3 separate regions of the Homo sapiens genome follow, and regions 1 and 2 are each linked to region 3. Evidence: promoter capture Hi-C in 16 types of primary human blood cells and fetal thymus (Javierre and others, 2016). All regions are on one chromosome and are shown on one strand. The core of a region is centred on a gene start or on the middle of the fragment in contact, and the rest is flanking DNA. Distances in the headings are between cores, read along the strand shown.

Evidence for each region. The method cuts DNA at HindIII sites, captures the fragments that hold promoters and counts their contacts. A CHiCAGO score of 5 or more calls a contact.
Region 1: a fragment that was not itself captured here is called in contact with the fragment with the promoter of UTY in region 3 in 5 of 17 cell types (monocytes, naive B cells, total B cells and 2 more); the score reaches 11.6 in monocytes.
Region 2: a fragment that was not itself captured here is called in contact with the fragment with the promoter of UTY in region 3 in 2 of 17 cell types (M1 macrophages and activated CD4 T cells); the score reaches 9.5 in M1 macrophages.

Annotation. Positions count from the first base shown.
Region 1 is chrY:12,918,749-12,921,448 of GRCh38, forward strand. It overlaps DDX3Y (DEAD-box helicase 3 Y-linked), which reads left to right. Exons shown (of 17, transcript NM_004660.5): 17 at 1-1,730. Among named protein-coding and RNA genes, the nearest start is that of DDX3Y, 15 kb to the left of the region's middle. The HindIII fragment of the contact is 2,187 bases long and covers 190-2,376 here.
Region 2 is chrY:14,344,809-14,347,508 of GRCh38, forward strand. No RefSeq gene overlaps it. Among named protein-coding and RNA genes, the nearest start is that of NLGN4Y, 180 kb to the right of the region's middle. The HindIII fragment of the contact is 6,886 bases long and covers 1-2,700 here.
Region 3 is chrY:13,478,593-13,481,292 of GRCh38, forward strand. UTY (ubiquitously transcribed tetratricopeptide repeat containing, Y-linked) reads right to left here and starts at 1,441. Exons shown (of 30, transcript NM_001258249.2): 1 at 922-1,441; 2 at 662-725. The coding sequence starts at 1,073. It overlaps MIR12120 (microRNA 12120), which reads left to right and starts at 585; the gene lies at 585-674. The HindIII fragment of the contact is 7,265 bases long and covers 1-2,700 here.

The DNA.
Region 1 (2,700 bases), core at 33-2,532, 560 kb before region 3:
GGATAGGCACTTGGGAACTTACACTCTTTAAGCCATTCCAGTCATGATGAGGTGGAATGTATCAGTATACCAATTAATATTTTTGAAAGAGCTCTTTTAGGTTAATTTAAGTACAGCAATTTCTCATGTAATGTTTAGGGAGTTTATTCTAACCTAGGCAAACGGCATGCTATCACAAGAAAGGTTTAAAGCTTTGATAAAATGGGGGAGATTTAATCAGTTTTTTTAATGCCTGCTATAAAAATTTGAAATATTAGAATGGCCGACCATGGCAGTGACCAGGCCTCACTACAGGCCTGGTTGGATTCTGGTCTTTAATGCATGCTAGTGTTGATGTTTTTTGGTCAAGAACGGTTTAAACAGGAAGGATTGTGCAGCAGGCTTTAATTTAATGTAGATTCATACTGCTCTGTTAAAGCTGCATTGAAATGTTAAAATGGCTTACACTTGCAGACTTTGCAAATCTTAAGACTAACAAATCCTTGAAATCACACAGCTTGCAAATACGTACTAAACTGCACAAGGTGTGTGTTCTATATGTGCAGTTTTAGCGTATTTTAGTTGCATAGGTTTCCATGGTATTTATAGTCTCTTGTGCTAAATTTGGCCAAAGATGATTGTCCACCACTAAAAATGCCTCTCCCACTTGGAATTCTGTACTGATTTTGTGGCCAGATGCAATGATCTTTAAAAACAAATCTTTTCAATGGCATAAGAAGTTGACAAAAATTTCTTAAAGTGCAATAGATTTTCAAGTGTATTGTGCCTTGTTCTAAAACTTTTAAGTAGGTGCACTTGACAGTATTGAGGTCATTTGTTAAGGTGCTATTTCAATTAGTGTAGGTTTAGACTCTTGTACATTTCTCCCATAACTTTTTACAAAGTATTTTGTTGCACATTCAGAGAATTTTATATATATATGTCTTGTGTGGGTGTCCTCGACCTTCCAATCTTATTTCGTCTCTTGGAGATTGTTGAATGCAGCCAGTGAAGAAGTAGATTCCTAAATTTTATTGGGGACCATGGAATGGTAGTTGAGAAGAAAACTATTTGCACACAACAGATTTTAGATACTTTTTGCTGCTAGTTGTGTAATATTTATTGAACATTTTGACAAATATTTATTTTTGTAAGCCTAAAAATGATTCTTTGAAAGTTTAAAGAAACTTGACCAAAAGACAGTACAAAAAACACTGGCACTTGAATGTTGAATGTCACCGTATGTGAAATAATATATTTTGGGGTAGTGTGAGCTTTTAATGTTAAGTCTGTTAAACTTGAGTCAAATTAAGCAGACCCGGCATTGGCAATGTAGCTGTAATTTTCTGACAAAATTTAAGACAAAATTGTCAACTTGAAACTAAAACATGCCAAGGTTTTGATATACTTGTCTTAAGATATTAATGAAACACTTCTGAACACTGATAGGAAGTGTCCACATCCACAAAGTTTCTCTTGAGTTTTGTTATGTGTTTTGTTGTGTTTGATTTTCAGTGATTGTCTGGTATATTTACAGTCCTCAAACATGGTTATTTCTGTCAGTGACTTAACATTCGGTTTTATCAGCCAGCAGTATTCTTCAGTAAATAAAGAATGGAATTGCTGAATGTAATCATTGAACCTCGAGTCACTGTAAAAGTTCAGTAATTGCTTATTGTATTAGTTTTAGATGCTGGCACTGCATGTGCTCTGTTTATTCTGATTTTACTAAAATAAAAAGTTCAAAAGTCTTCCTGCTGTCACTTGTAGCTTAATGTTGAGTTGAAGATGAACTTGTGCTCTTAACCTGAAGATTGGAAATCTGATTTCTTGGCTACCTACCAAAGCTGTTTGTGAAATACCGTCCTGAGGCTAGAAGTACTTCTTTGCCTTAATGACGAAGGTGGTAGAAGGTTGGAGTTGTGAGGCAGGATTTGTGTTCTGACTGATGTGAATCTAAAAGGTCTATACATGCAGCATATATTGCATTTTGGTCTAAGCAACTTAATATGAGTGTGATTGCTATTTTAAGCATTTTTGATGTGAAAGATGGCTGAACTAAATGAATTGGGTAAAAAGTCAGTTGCCTAACAAATTACTTTTTGATTGTAAGTAGTTACTTAAGGTCAAGAATTAATTGGAGTAGGTTAATGATAGCTGAGAATCGCATAAGCACGTTTTGTCCAACTTCTTTTTTCTGGTGGCTGACAATCCCTTTAACACATTGCAGCAGTTAGTGCCGCTTAACAAACACGATAGGCAAACTGGTCTAACGTGTTAATGTTTGAAATAGTTTTTTTTAAGGAAATCAAGAACCTCAGTGTCCCTTTGTGTCCCCTTTTGGCAACCAACCTCAAACTGCAAAGGATAAGCACTGTTCTTTTAACAGCACACATAAGCTTTAGTCTAATAAACTTGGTGAAAATGAACAGTTTTTTTTAACTCATTTTTTGCACTAAGTGTTAACGTTCGTGAGATGGAATTACAATGTTCCTTAGATTTTTAACATTCTGATAGCTGTGTGGAATTCTGTTGTGTAAATAGCACCTAATTTCTAGTTTGTAGCAGCAACAAACTATTTTAATATGATTATGGTAAACGCCAATGCTCCTTCATGTCTTACCTGTTTTCAGTAGGTACTACTGGTTTTCAGAAGTATTTATGCCGTTTTGCACTTGGTCTCACAGTTTATTTGTGGTTGCTCTATATTCTCAACATTAC
Region 2 (2,700 bases), core at 134-2,633, 870 kb after region 3:
ATTAGAGAAGGGCACCAACCCAAAGAGTGTGTGCTGGCAAGATTTATTAAAGCCAAAGTGAAAGTAAAACTTCCACGCGGTGGAAGGGGACCCAGAAGGGTTGTCATTTCTGGCTTGGGTGTCTTATGCTTATATCCCCTTATGACTTCCCCACCTTTTCCTTTTTCTGTCCTATAGGATTAGCTTATTTTCTATCTGTGGGTTGGCAGGCCTGATTGATTAAAAACATCAGGCTGCAGCTAGAGCTTAAATTACTAATATGATTGGTTGATGTTTCAATCCCTTAGTTTGCAGCTGTGACTCATTTCGGCTTAGGAGAAAGTCCCCTTTGATTAGTTGAAGTTTCAATCCCTTAGCTTGCAGCTATGAGTCATTTTGGCTTAGGGAAAAGCCCCTTGGGGAAGTCCCTATAGACCCAGGAAGTCCAGCCAACTTAGCCACTTAGTCCGTCAGTAGTATTTGCATTTAACCTACATACATCCTCTTATATACAGTTAGCCCCATGTTCTACATCTGTGGATTCAACCAATATTGGATCCAGATATTTGGAGAAATCAAGAGCATCTATAATGAACAATAAACACCTTTTTTGTAACTATGTACATAACTATGTACTTAACTACTACACAGTGTTTACATTGTATTAGGTATTATGAGTACAATTATGTACCACCTAACAATGTTTTGGTCAATAACAGATCACATATATGCTGGTGGTCTCATAAGATTACAATGCCATATTTTTACTGTACCTTTTCTATGTCTAGCTATGTTCAGATACACAACATTTACCATCGTGTTGCAATTGATTACAGTAGTAAGTGCAGTAGCATGCTGTTCATGTTTGCAGCCCAGGAGTGGGAGGCTATGATGTATAGCCTAGGTGTATATAACAGGCTATATCATCTAGGTTTGTGTAAGTACACTCACTAATATTCACACAACAAAAAAAATCATTTAATAGCACATTCTCATAAGGACTAAGCTCTAATATTTTCTTTCCCAAATTCTCATCAAAGGGGTCTGGGTAGTCATGCCCTACAAACTTGTAACTTCTCATCAAATGCATTTTATTTAACCCTACATATCATGATGTACTTTCCAATATGACTCTGGCAAAACATTATGTGACAAAGAAGAAAGTGAAAATATTTTACCCCAAAACATGTTTCTTTGTCAATTCTTGAAATTACCCTGCAAATCTGTCCTAAGTGGGGGAAAATTTGCATCTGTAAAGAATCTCTATTAACATAGCTAGGTCTTTATCTTCCAGATGTTCCCTATCTTAAAAAGATTAACTTAAAGTCTAGCATGCTTTAGAAATCTGAACAGAAAATATTTGTCATCTATTTTTTCTAAGAGCTGCCACAATAAGATTTCAAGAGAACCTTGGTCTCCACAATCATTTATTTTAACCTGAATATCCCAGGTCTTTAGACAAACTCAACGAATTCTCAACCAGAAAATACTTAAATTTACCTATAGCCTGGAAGCCCCATCCCCTCCCACCCCACCCTGACCTTGCTTGAGTTGTACTGACTATCTGGACTAAACCAATATATTTCTTAAATATATTTGATTGTGGTTTCATGCCTCCCTAAAATGTGTAAAACCAAGTCATACCCCCATCACCTTAGGCACATGTTCTCAGGACCTACTTAGGGCTTTATCATGGGTCATGGTGACTTATATTTGGCTCAGAATAAATCTCTTCAAACATTTTACTGAGTTTGTCTCTTTTTATCAACACTCAGAACATAGCCCTGTTGTTAAACAATACATTATTGTAATCTAGAGAGGATTTAATATATATGGGAGGGTGTGCAGAGGTTATATACAGATACGACACAATTTCATATCAAGACGTTGAACATGCATGGATTTTGGAATACTCTGGAGGTCCTAGGACCAATCTCCTACTGGTACCAAGAGACGACTGTACTTTAAATCATCTCTAGTTTTTTGTTTCTGTTTTTATTTTTATTTTTAATAATCCCTCATACAGTGTAAATGCTAAGCATAGTTGTTATACTGTATTGGGTTTTGGTTAAGTTTTTATTGTTGTATTTTTATTTTTAATTTTTAAAAAGTATTTCTGATCTGAGGATGGTTGAAATTGCTGATGTGGAACTGGAAATATAAAAGGCTGACTGGATGTGAAAGTCATCCCAGTAGGATAAAGAATATATGCCATGGCGTGAAGGCAGACAATCAACCCAGGTTTGTGTTAAATTGATAAACTTAAGTTATAATTTATTGATACAATACACATGTATTGTTAACATAGGTGGGACTGAGTTGAATTGAGTTTCATAGCATTTATCAAATGCTGTGTCCCGAAGGGGAAAGGTAGGTTCATGTGTTCTCACTCTTTGAGGCATGCTTGTATTAGTACTTCCTGACACATCACGGAGGAAGTCAACAAAAGCAGAGAATTATCTCAAAAATTGTTCAAAGACCCCTAATAGTACAAAAAATTTTGTTGAATAATCAAGACCCATAGGGGCCCTGTGTTCATGGAACTTCCATTGTCACCAAAGAGATAAAGTGATATAATAGACATTGGTTGTCAAATTAAATGACAACATGACGTGCTTAACTTGGGAGCCAAGGAGCCCCACGGTGAAATCCTAGCACAATCACTTATCAGTTTTAGATGTTTGGAGAAGGCGCTTAAATTCTATTAGCATCAGCTTTCTT
Region 3 (2,700 bases), core at 191-2,690:
TAAACGACAGTGCCAACTTTTCACACAAACAACAAATTCTTCCCACTGTGAGCATGACACCTAAGAAACAAGGTTCCTGAATGGAAAAAGCACACACATTCATGAAATCACATTTGCAGCACTGTGCATCCTAAAAAAGTCAACAAATCACTAAACTTCAGGCTAAACATACACGCATCAGTTTATAGGTCAAATATCTACTGCAAACTCTTCACCGCTGTAACTTACTTGCTACTTACACTTAGGACACCAGGGATATTTTTTTTAAAAAGGCAAAAAAATGTTTAAAATTAGACACCAAGAGCCAAATACCAAAAGGCGAGGGGAAGAAGCAGGAAGTTATGAATTTTGAAAACTGTACACATTCACTATTTGTGACGCTAAAATTCAGGAACAAAAGGCCCTAAAGTAACAGGCATGTGGTGTAGACCCGGTTTAGCCCGGTCCCAAAGCGTCCGATTTTTTTTTTCCTCAGAGTAGAAGGGAGTCTGGAGCAAGGGGCGAAGTATTCCAGAGTACGGGGACAGCAAAGGCAAGAAACACTTTTCCGACCCCTTGGCCATGGAGCAGAGCCAAAATAAATACTGGCTGGGCGGTAAGGAACGCGGGGCCTTGGTAGAGCAAAGTGCGGACCAAAGACTTTGCGTCTGGTTGCTTTTACCTTGCCTAGTAGGGTCTTCGTTCTGGCGCCATCTTCATGAAGCCTCACGAACCCGAAGAGACGGCTGTAGAGAGAGAGACACAGAGCTTGTTAATGGTCTGAGAAAGCCAGTGACTTGCTCCTTCCCGAGTCCAAGAGCGACAGCGACAGATTGGTGAGTGCCAAGCTGAGGATGACCCCGTCATCAACGTGGGCAAGCTGCGTCCAGGCCTTCCCGGAGAGTATCGCCAGCCAACCAGGCGGGTGATGGAGGTGCGTACCTGTCCATGCCACCAAGCGCCTCCCTTTCCTCGACTGTCAGGCTAACAGACTCCTCTTCACTCTCGCGGCTCGCTTTTCCTTCCGCCATTTTCTTTGCCTCATCACCGAAGGCAACAGCGGCGGTAGTGAGCGACACTGCGCAGGATTTCATGGAAACAACAAATTTCCAAGTCCCACGACGATACCCAACCTTAATCGAGTAGTTGAAAAGACGCCTTCAATCGCTGCTTGAGACTGTGACGCCAATTTTATCGCCTCCTCAGCGGCTGCAAGGAAAAAAGCTGAGGCAAAGACTTAAGCTACCGAAGCACGGGCAGCGGAACTCGGCTACCTGGATCACATCTGGGAAACTACAGGGAAGGCAGAAGCTCGCAGTGCTGGAGAGCACAGCAGAATTTCTTAAAATCACAAACTTTGCCAGCACCAGCACAAAGTTGTAATTGTGTCACGGGCGAACCCCACGCAGCCGCCGCGACCTCCCCGCTCCCAACCACTTAGTTGTAGCCAATCTAGGCGACTGATTCGTCTCACGTGATCTTTGTTGACTTACGTCAGGCATTGCTCCACTGTACTCCTAGGCTGCTGGGACCCCGCCCAGCCAGTTCGCCAAGGACCTAGGAACATGACAGAGGCTGACTGATTCTGACCGCTGGTTGGTTGATGGTCACGTCTATGGAGAAAAGGGTAGTCTCTGGGATGGAACAACCTGTAGGTTGTGCTAGTTAAATGCATTAAGATAGAAAATGGAGTGTCTGTGCTGGGTGTTTTTGCAGTTGCGATACGCTTGAAGGGGAAGAGAGCGATGGGAAGGGCGGCATCGGGCATCACCCACGGGGCGCAAATGCGAAAAGAGGACACCATGGACTTTAGGAGAGTCCGTAATGAGGCTCCCACTGTCACAAGCCTTGCGAATGCGAGACCTTGCGGGGCATGGCAGGGAAGCTGCGCAGGCCCTAAACCTTCACCCTCAAGACTTTTGGCCCTAAGGCCTTGTCACCTCCATAGGCTGGTTCTTTGCCCATTTCCTCTCCACTGACCAAGTCTAAAGAGAAGGCATAATATCTTATGACCTCAGTCGGTAAGCCAGGCCCTAGGGAATCAACGTGGCAACTGCATTTATCAGTTCATGATATTATCTAAACAACAAACGATGAGCAAAAAAAAAAAAAAAAAAAAAAGTTACTCCACAAACCCAAAATGTTTATTTCTATTGTGATAATGATAATTCCGTGAGGTCTCAGTAAGAGTAGGAGCTTCTGTGGACAGGAATTATAAGAACAATAATTAAGACCTTCATCACACTTTCAAGATGCAGTAACCCTTAGAAAAGAAAAAAACACCACTTTTTTCTTACTTTCTCAATTGTAACCAAAATTATAAATAATAGGTAAAAGAATTTATTTCTGAACCCCAAATATCTGAGAGAGGTCTTAGTCAATTTAAAAAGTTTATTTTGCAAGACTTACCCATGATACATTTGCCCAAGGTGGTCAGGGCACAGCTTGCTTTTGTACGTTTTAGGGAAACATGATTGGTTCGGTCAGGTAAGAGGGACAGCTCGAAGCGGGGGCTTCCATGTTAGAAATAGATAAGAGACAGGTCGGGCGCTGTGGTTTACGCCAGTAATCCCAGCACTTTGGGAGGCCGAGGCGGGCAGATGACCTAACGTTGGGAGTTTCAGACCAGCGTCACCAACATGGAAAAACCCCGTCTCTACTAAAAATACAAAATTAACAGAGCATGGTGGCGCATGCCTGTAATCTCAGCTACTCTGAAGA